Linked DNA regions of Homo sapiens: region 1 is linked to region 2. Evidence: promoter capture Hi-C in 16 types of primary human blood cells and fetal thymus (Javierre and others, 2016). All regions are on one chromosome and are shown on one strand. The core of a region is centred on a gene start or on the middle of the fragment in contact, and the rest is flanking DNA. Distances in the headings are between cores, read along the strand shown. Region 1 has its middle 13 kb from the start of MIR1471. Region 2 holds the start of PRSS56 (serine protease 56).

The links. Contacts are between HindIII fragments. The CHiCAGO score rates a contact against its expected background, and 5 or more counts as called.
Region 1: a fragment that was not itself captured here is called in contact with the fragment with the promoter of PRSS56 in region 2 in 1 of 17 cell types (endothelial precursors); the score reaches 6.1 in endothelial precursors.

Annotation. Positions count from the first base shown.
Region 1 is chr2:231,877,460-231,881,675 of GRCh38, reverse strand. No RefSeq gene overlaps it. Among named protein-coding and RNA genes, the nearest start is that of MIR1471, 13 kb to the left of the region's middle. The HindIII fragment of the contact is 3,367 bases long and covers 233-3,599 here.
Region 2 is chr2:232,517,981-232,522,100 of GRCh38, reverse strand. PRSS56 (serine protease 56) reads right to left here and starts at 1,713. Exons shown (of 13, transcript NM_001195129.2): 1 at 1,406-1,713; 2 at 673-780; 3 at 235-285; 4 at 1-130. The coding sequence starts at 1,502. The HindIII fragment of the contact is 25,422 bases long and covers 1-4,120 here.

The sequences.
Region 1 (4,216 bases), core at 667-3,166, 640 kb after region 2:
CAGACGAGGACAGAGAGACAGAGGGAAATAGAGACATAGAGACAGACAGAGAGATACAGGGAGACAGACAGAGTTGGAGACACACACACATATACACACACACACAAACCCACCCAGAGAGAGAGAAACTACCCATGACTTTCTTAGGGCAAGTCAGTGGTGGGTTTCACAATAAATTCCACGAGAATCCATCTTTTATCAATTGGTCACTACATGACCAACTCACCAAGCTTAGTCAGTACACTGATTTTCCAGTCACCATTTTAGGGAATATGCTTTTTACATATTTAATATTATTCTTTACTATCTTACTGGCATTTTAAGAAATGTTTAAATTGTTGAGAATGAGAGGGTCAACTTAGCTTTTTTCTGATCACACTCTTTATATAATGATATTCCAAATTCATAACATATTCGATACAAGAATCTTTCAGTTTATACTGATTTCTCTTGAATTATTTTAAAAGTCATTTTCTGTTTTGCCAATATTTAGCGTTTTTATAATTCTTTTTACCAGTTTCTCTGAATGACCAATTTGATGAATTTAGCAAATGGACAGCCGATTCATTGCTTCTCGCTATTTATGAAGTTGACAAGCAATTTATATTTTATGTAATGGTTTTAAAAGAATTTGAAAGCAGTTTTGATTTTGTCTTCAGATGGCATTTGAAGGAATGTTCAGTTCTGTCCCAGAGCTACAGAGAGAGGGGAGAAAACATGAGAATCAGCACCCAGCACATTTGGGCTGCAGATTCCAGAAAGGGAGGCGGGGGCAGAGACAGGGAGAGGGTTTTGTTAGCTAGGAAGAAAGAGGCAATGGATCTTGGGTCCTGGCCACATGCAGGAACAAATGAAGGTTAGAGCAGACACACAAAGAAAGGGGAGTAGTTGTGGGGTGAGACCTGCAGGAAGGCCCTGGAGGAAGGACAGAGACCCCAGGGTGACTTGGTCTGGGCAGCTTTCCTGTCTCAGGCTTGGCATCCTAGAAACAAGCCCTATGTGAATCATTGTTCCTCGCAATGGGAGAAAACAATGTAGAGTACAAGTAATTAAATATTTACCAAACCCCAGGCACATGTACAACTCGATTGTTTCTGCTTTTATGCCCCTCTATAACAGTGTTATAGGCCGGGCACGGTGACTCATGCCTGTAATCCCAGCACAGTTTGGGAGGCCAAGGCAAGTGGATCATTTGAGGTCAGGAGTTCCAGACCAGCCTGGCCAACATGGTGAAACCCTGTCTCTGTTAAAAATACAAAAATTAGCTGGGCATGGTGGTGCATGCCTGTGGTCCCAGCTACTCAGGAGGCTGAGGCAGGAGAGTCACTTGAACCCGGGATGCAGAGGTTTCAGTGAGCCAAGATTGCACTCCAGCCTGGATGACAAAGCGAGACTCCAACTCAAAAAAAAAAAAAAAAAAAAAGAAAAGAAAAGAAATAAAAGTTATATTGAAAATAATTGGACATTGAGCTTTTCCCATGTTTAGAATTATTTTCTTAGGATAGTATTCCTAGAAATTAGTGGGTCAAAAAGTTAAAACATCAGCGTTCATGCCAAATGGCTTCCCCATTTGGGGTAAAGGGATTTTACCAGTTGATCCCAGAAACATCTGAGAGAGCCCATTGGCCTATACCCTCAATGCCCACTGAGTGTTTGCTCCTTAAGAAAATCCTACGGTTGGCCGGGCACAGTGGCTCACACCTGTAATCCCAGCACTCTGGGAGGCTGAGGTGGGTGGATCACAAGGTCAGGAGATCGAGACCATCCTGGCTAACACGGTGAAACCCTGTCTCTACTAAAAATACAAAAAATTAGCCGGGCATGGTGGTGGGTGCCTGTAGTCCCAGCACTTTGGGAGGCTGAGGCGGGCAGATCACAAGGTCAGGAGCTTGAGACCATCCTGGCTAACATGGTGAAACCCCGTCTCTACTAAAAATACAAAAAATTAGCTGGGCATGGTGGCGGGTGCCTGTAGTCCCAGCAACCCAGGAGGCTGAGGCAGGAGAATGGCATGAACCTGGGAGGTGGAGCTTGCAGTGAGCCACAATCGTGCCACTGCACTCCAGCCTGGGCAACAGAGTGAGACTCCATCTCAAGAAAAAAAAAAGAAAGAAAATCCTATGGTTTAGTGATCTACAGCTGAGAACTATGGAGGATAGTTTTCATTTCGCTCTTGAAACACATATCAAGCCCTACTGTCAACAGTCTTTCCTGTCACACATCTCACTGATTCCAACTCAGGGAGGGAGCTATGTCTTCTGGCAGCATTATTGCATTTGAGTCTCTTCTCTTTGAAATCCAATCTCCAATCGCTGAACCTGGAGATCAACATCAGAAAAAAAAAAAAAAAAGGCCGTGACTATCATAATTGTATGCAGTTAACATTCTCAGCAAGTAGACTGACCGGAAAAGGAGCTCCTATCGTGGAAGGAAATAATCGTGGGAGAAGCCCGGAGTATATTTTCTTTCTTTTTTTTTTTAATTTTGTAACAGAGTCTAGCTGTGTCACCCAGGCTGGAGTGCAGTGGCACGGTCTCAGCTCATTGCAATCTCTGCCTCCTGGGATCAATCGATTCTCCTGCCGCAGCCTCCCAAGTAGCTGGGATTACAGGTGCCCGCCACCACATCTGGCTAATTTTTGTATTTTTAGTAGAGACGAGGTTTTTCCGTGTTGGCCATGCTGGTCTCAAACTCCTGACCTCAGGTGATCCGCCTGCCTCGGCCTCCCAAAGTGCTGAGATTACAGACGTCAGCTACCACGCCCGGCCAGCCCGGAGTATATTTTCTAAAGTAGGAAACCTGGAAGGAGAATTACAACAAAATCCTTACACACATGGATTTTTAAAATGACGAGAGTGGATGGGAGACCTTGAGTCACTTCCCATCTCTTGATTCTACTGTCTCTCTTCTGCACCAAAGAGGAACAGGTGTGTATGTCGGTTAAGGGGTTGGTGGTGGCCTGAGTGGGGTCAAGAGGGTGGGGCAGGGCAGGGCCCTGTGTGAATCCTGATGTCTTTGTACAAGTGACTGTCCTCAGCCAACAAGAGACAAGTTCAGAAACTTAGTCTAAAAAGCCACATTGTTTTCTGCTTTGAAATGCTTTTAATTTAATAATCTAATTTAAAGACAGGGCGGGGCATGGGGGCTCACACCTGTAATCCCAGCACTTTGGGAAGCTGAGGCCGGAAGATCACTGGAACCCAGGAGTTCAAGACCAGCCTGGGCAACATAGTGAGACCCCCGTCACTACACAAAAAATACAAACAAATTAGCCAAGTGTGATGGCACATGCTACGGTCCCACCTATTCAGGAGGCTGAGGTGGGAAGATCACTTGATTCCGGAATGTCAAGGTGGCAGTGAGCTGTGATTGCGCCACTGCACTCTAGCCTCTAGCCTCAGCAACAGAGCAAAACCCTGTCTCAAAAAAAAAAAAAGTGTGTGTCAGAGCATATGAGTGTGTGCATATTCCAATCATGCACCTGCGTGCACCTGGGAGGGCAGGGGTTTAAGTTACAAATTCAGCACTGTCACTCAGTTACAAAAACACCCTCACACTCATTGCCCCTCTCAGCAGAAGAAAATGCTCTAGAGAAAGCTTTTGCCTTCACGCTGGTACAGAGTGAGAAAGCACTGTCAACATCTGAGTGGAAAACCCCAACATTCCGCGGCCTCGAGCAGGTCTCTGCTGGAATCCTGAGGACAGGCTTTGTTCCTGTGTCTGGCCAGCTGCCCAAACACTGACAGTCTACTGTTCTAAAATCCTTAGGTATCATGAGGCTCTGGGTGACCAACAGGAGTGCTCTCAGAGTTTGAGATCCCAAAAAGGGGGTAATAAGGTCTCTTTGCAGGGCCCAGACCCGAGCCCCCAGGATCCCACCAGGGCCTCCGGACCTTTACAGAGGGCTCTCTGCTCATCCAATCCAGGTTTCTCCTCCACTCTGATAGGGGAGGGCTCCTTCCCATCTCCTGGAGGTCCTGTTGCCTCCTGGTCTCATCTGCCCTCTGGCAGAGTCCTGGAGGAAAAGCCAGGAGCAGCAGGTGGGGAGGCCGAGTGCCTCCGCAGAAAACTGCAGTCAGCCAGGCGCGGTGGTTCATGCCTATAATCCCAGCACTTTGGAAGGCCAAGGCAGGTGGATCACCTGAGGTCAGGAGTTCAAGGCCAGCCTGACCAACATGGTGAAACCCCCGTCTCTACCAAAAATACAAAAATTAGC
Region 2 (4,120 bases), core at 464-2,963:
AGAGGCTGCCCGCCGAGCTGCAGCCTCACCAGCCAGGGCCAGGCCCCGGGCGGCGCCGCGCTGCCCCCCACGATGCGGCCGTGGGCCCGCGTCACATTGGCAGTGCTCGGACGCCTCTCGCCGCACGGCCCTAGAAAGGGGCAAGGGGTGTCACGAGGGACATGTTCTGGCCATCCTCGCCTTCGAGGCCCACCCGGCTCTCAGGCCTGCCCCCTCGAGCCTTTTCAACCTCACCTGGCTCAGGTGGGTCCTGGAGGAGAGCTTGAGGCCTGGGGCGCCCAGATCCTGCAGAGAAACAGACCTTTGAGTCTCACTGCTGCCCTCTCGCCTGTCCTCACCCCAGGCTGGGCCGAGCCTCTCTCTCCCCATCTCTCCTTTCGCGCTCAGCCCTCCAGCCCACACGGGTTCTATTTCAGCAACCATGAACTTCTCCTGGTCACCACAGGAGCCCAGAGTGTTTCCGCCTCCCTGCCTTTGCACAGGCCATGCCCCAAGCCTAGCGTGTCCTTTCCACTCGGAGAGACAGACCTTCACAAACGTAGTCTAGGTTGCGGCCCAACACAGTCTCTGCCCCCAAGAGGAGAGTGAAGACTGAAGGGAAGGGACAGAGGCAGCAGAATGGGCCCAGGGTAGGCAGCAAGCTCACTGGGGCACGGGGGGCAGGGTGGGCACCTCGGCACTCGTGCGATCTGTGCTGGATCTCCATCGCCACTCGGTTTATTGCCCACTGGGCGCTCCTCTGGGCTGCCTGCAACGCCTGAGTCCCCTGGGCCGACAGAACTGCTGGGACAGGGGGCACACAATCATGCGTGGTTGGGGAAGAGCCTCAGCCTCATCCTCCTGGCCCCAGCCCTGAGCCCTGCCTCGGGAGACCCACCAGCCTGGGACAGAATGAGGAGGCAAGTGAGCCCCGGGGACGCTGGGCCCAGCACTCAGAGCCCGTGCTCCCAGGTTCTCAGCCCAAGATGTCTCCCTAATTCAACTGAGCTGGACTGGGATCTTTGAAAGGTGCTTTTCCTTAACAATTTTTTTTAAAGACACCACCCCAAAGATACAGACATCGCAGAACTCAGCTTTATTGACTGAAAGTAGCTGTGTTTGAGTGGCCCACCTTCGGCCGGGACAGCCAAGGGCAGGGTGCTGCCCCGGGCCGTTTCTCTCTGCTTCTTGGGGCCTTCTCTCCATTCCTTTCGGCATGCTCAACAGCTCCCCTTCCCTTTCCCGCCACACCCCTCCTCTCCCACCTATATCTCAGTTCTTGGCCCCTTCTCGCAGCAGGGTGGGCAGAAGGAGCCAAAGGTCCTTATGAGTGGGGGTGACAAGCTCTTCTGTCCCCGCCCGCCCAGGGTCCCACTTCCTCTACATTCCTCCCAACCCCGCGGCTCTCGGGCCAGCCTGGACTTACCTTGCAGGGCGCTGGGGGGCAGGCGTGTGTACAGTGGGTGCCCGTGGGCAAACCATGAGCTTGGGAGGGGTAGCAGCAGCAGCACAGCCAGCAGCATGGTGACCAGGAGCTGGGGTGAGAGACCCCTGTCCTCTCTCCTCCTCGGAGTCCACCTTCCGGGTGCCTATCCTTTGGTGCCCGCCTTCTGCTGCCTTTCGGCCCCCGGGCACTGAATTCTTGTCCCTCAAATCATCTGACCCCGTTCTCTTACATCAAAATTACCCGCCTCCCTGGTCAGCCCTCACCTGGCCCTTAACTCCTAGGAGCCCACAGGGGAATGGGGCTGCAGGGTCTTTATAGAGGACAGCCTGGGGGAGGGGTGCACGGGAGGGTGGCCAAGACTGGGGGAGGAGTGGGGTAGTGGGCTTGACCTTCACCTCTGAAGTCTCATCATCCCAGCTCCGAGCCCCCCTTCTGTCAAAGGAGCCCTTGTTTCTGCGGCTCCATCAAAGGGGCCAAGACAGGGAAGAAGGGCTGACGGTTGGGCTGCAGGCCAGGCAGAGGGGGGCTGCTGGGTGGGGGCGGGCCCTGGCTCCAGGGCTGGGATGGGGGGGGATCCCCATCTGCCTCTACCCCCTGAGGAGCTTACAGCTATGACGGGGCAGACACTCCTGGAGGGAGGAGGGCAGGGGGTGTCTGGGGTTTCTCAGCAGCCCCACCCCCTGAGGAAGCCCTGGAGCTCCCCACCCCTCTGCCCCTAATTGCTTGGCAGAGTCCCTCCCCAATGTGGCCATTTCTAAAGATGATCAAAGCAGCCTAATTAGCGCCGTAATTGCCGCACTGGGGGTGGTGGGGTGGGAAGGGGCAGAGGCAGGCAGCCGCAGGAGTGGCGCGGAAAGGGAGGCGGGAGATGAAAGGCCCACAGTGGCCCAGTTCCGGGAGGACAGGCCCTAGCAGCTTCTGACGCTCTCCCAGACCCCCTGGCCCTGCACAGTGCCCGCTCTGCCTGTCCGGCATTGTTCTGTGACCCTGATCTGGCAGTGGGATTCTTCTGGAGTCCTCTGGAGTCTCATGGGCAGGGCCACACAGCTCTCCTGGGACTGAGTTACCACCTGGGGTAGGATAGTGCCCGTCTGCGCTGCCCAGGCTCCCCAATTCATGTGAGGTGAACTGGTGGGAATATTTATCAGCAAATGCTATGACCCGGGGCTCTTTCCCCCTGGAGAGCCAGCTGTTCCACAGTGACCAGCACACCATGCTAAGGAGCCCTTTCCCCAGTTACCACCGCACCTCGCCATGACAATACCTCTACTTCAGGAATGCTCTGAAAATACTGTCTGCGGATGATTCTGGTGAGTGAATTTGGTGAAGTTGGAAAGGACTCTATTCACCAGAGTATCTGTCCATCTTGCAGGGTATCTTTTTATCCATGACCTCCACAATCTTGGTAGATAAGGCATTAGCTCAACACAGCTTGAATTTTAGCATAAACAGAGACAGTGTCCAAAGGAAGATCGCCTGCGGTTCCCAGTAAGAGCCACCAAAGCAGGGGACCCAGGAGCAGAGAAGGTGGGTGGGAAATCCTCACAGGCCTCTGTGAGGATTCGACAGAGCTTCAACAGAGCTTCTGCCCTGCAGGTTACTGCATCCAAGCTGAGGGGATAGGGATGGAGCCAGCCACCCAGGCAGCTCTATGGACGCTTCCCCTAGGGCATGCCTCCAGGAAGGTATGTCCTGCCCATTCTTGCCGAGTCACGCAGGCCAGGCCACAGCAAGCCCACACAGAGCCCCTGGGCCTCCCTCCTGCCTCTGGTCTTCAGGTGGGAGGCAGGGTGAGAATCCAGCCACTGCCAAAGAAAATGGAGGGAACTTTCTGCGTGGACTGCAATTCTGCTTAACCCCATTCTCCTGTTCTCTGATTCCTGTGCCCACAGCTGGGTCCCGAGCCCTCTCCTCTCTTCTGTATGGACCCACCCAACCAAGTCTGGCTCAATTTCATCCGCTCGCACAGGTTACCTCTTAGAAGCCACATTAAAATCCCACCTCATAACATTACTTTGTTTATTATTGTTTAAGCGTGCACTCACTCCCTGTCTGCTTCCTCCATTGGAATGTGATGGAGAGACTTCCAGGCCTCTATCCCTGCAGTCTCATTCTCTGTAACACAACCGTCTTCTATTTTCTTTATTTTTCTTTCTTTCTTTCTTTATATTTGAGGCAGGGTCTCACTCTGTCACCCAGGCTGGAGTGCAGTGGCACAAGTTACGGCTCACTGCAGCTTCGACTTCCTGGGCTCAAGTGATCCTCCTGCCTCAGCCTCCTGAGTGGCTGGGACCACAGGCATACACCACCATGCCGGCTAATTTTTAAATTTTTTGTAGAGACAGGGTCTCCCTATGTTGCCCGGGCTGGTCTGGAACTCCAGGGCTCAAGTGATCTGCCCACCTCAGCCTCCCAAAGTGCTGGGATTACAGGCATGAGCCACTGCACCTGGCCTCGGACTTTGTATTTTCTTTAGAGTATTTATTCCTATGTTGCAGGATGTTGATGGGGATTCTTGGCTGTTATAAGGGGCTCAGTCTCCTATAGTCTAGTTAAAAGGGTACCAGCAGTTGGCCCCAGACCTCCTCCCAGCGAGCAGCTCAATGCCAGGGACCTGCCGAAATCCATGCCATCCTCTATGGACCCTTCCCCGAGTGAATAGGAAAACAGGACAGGGGAGGGGGGCCTTGGCAC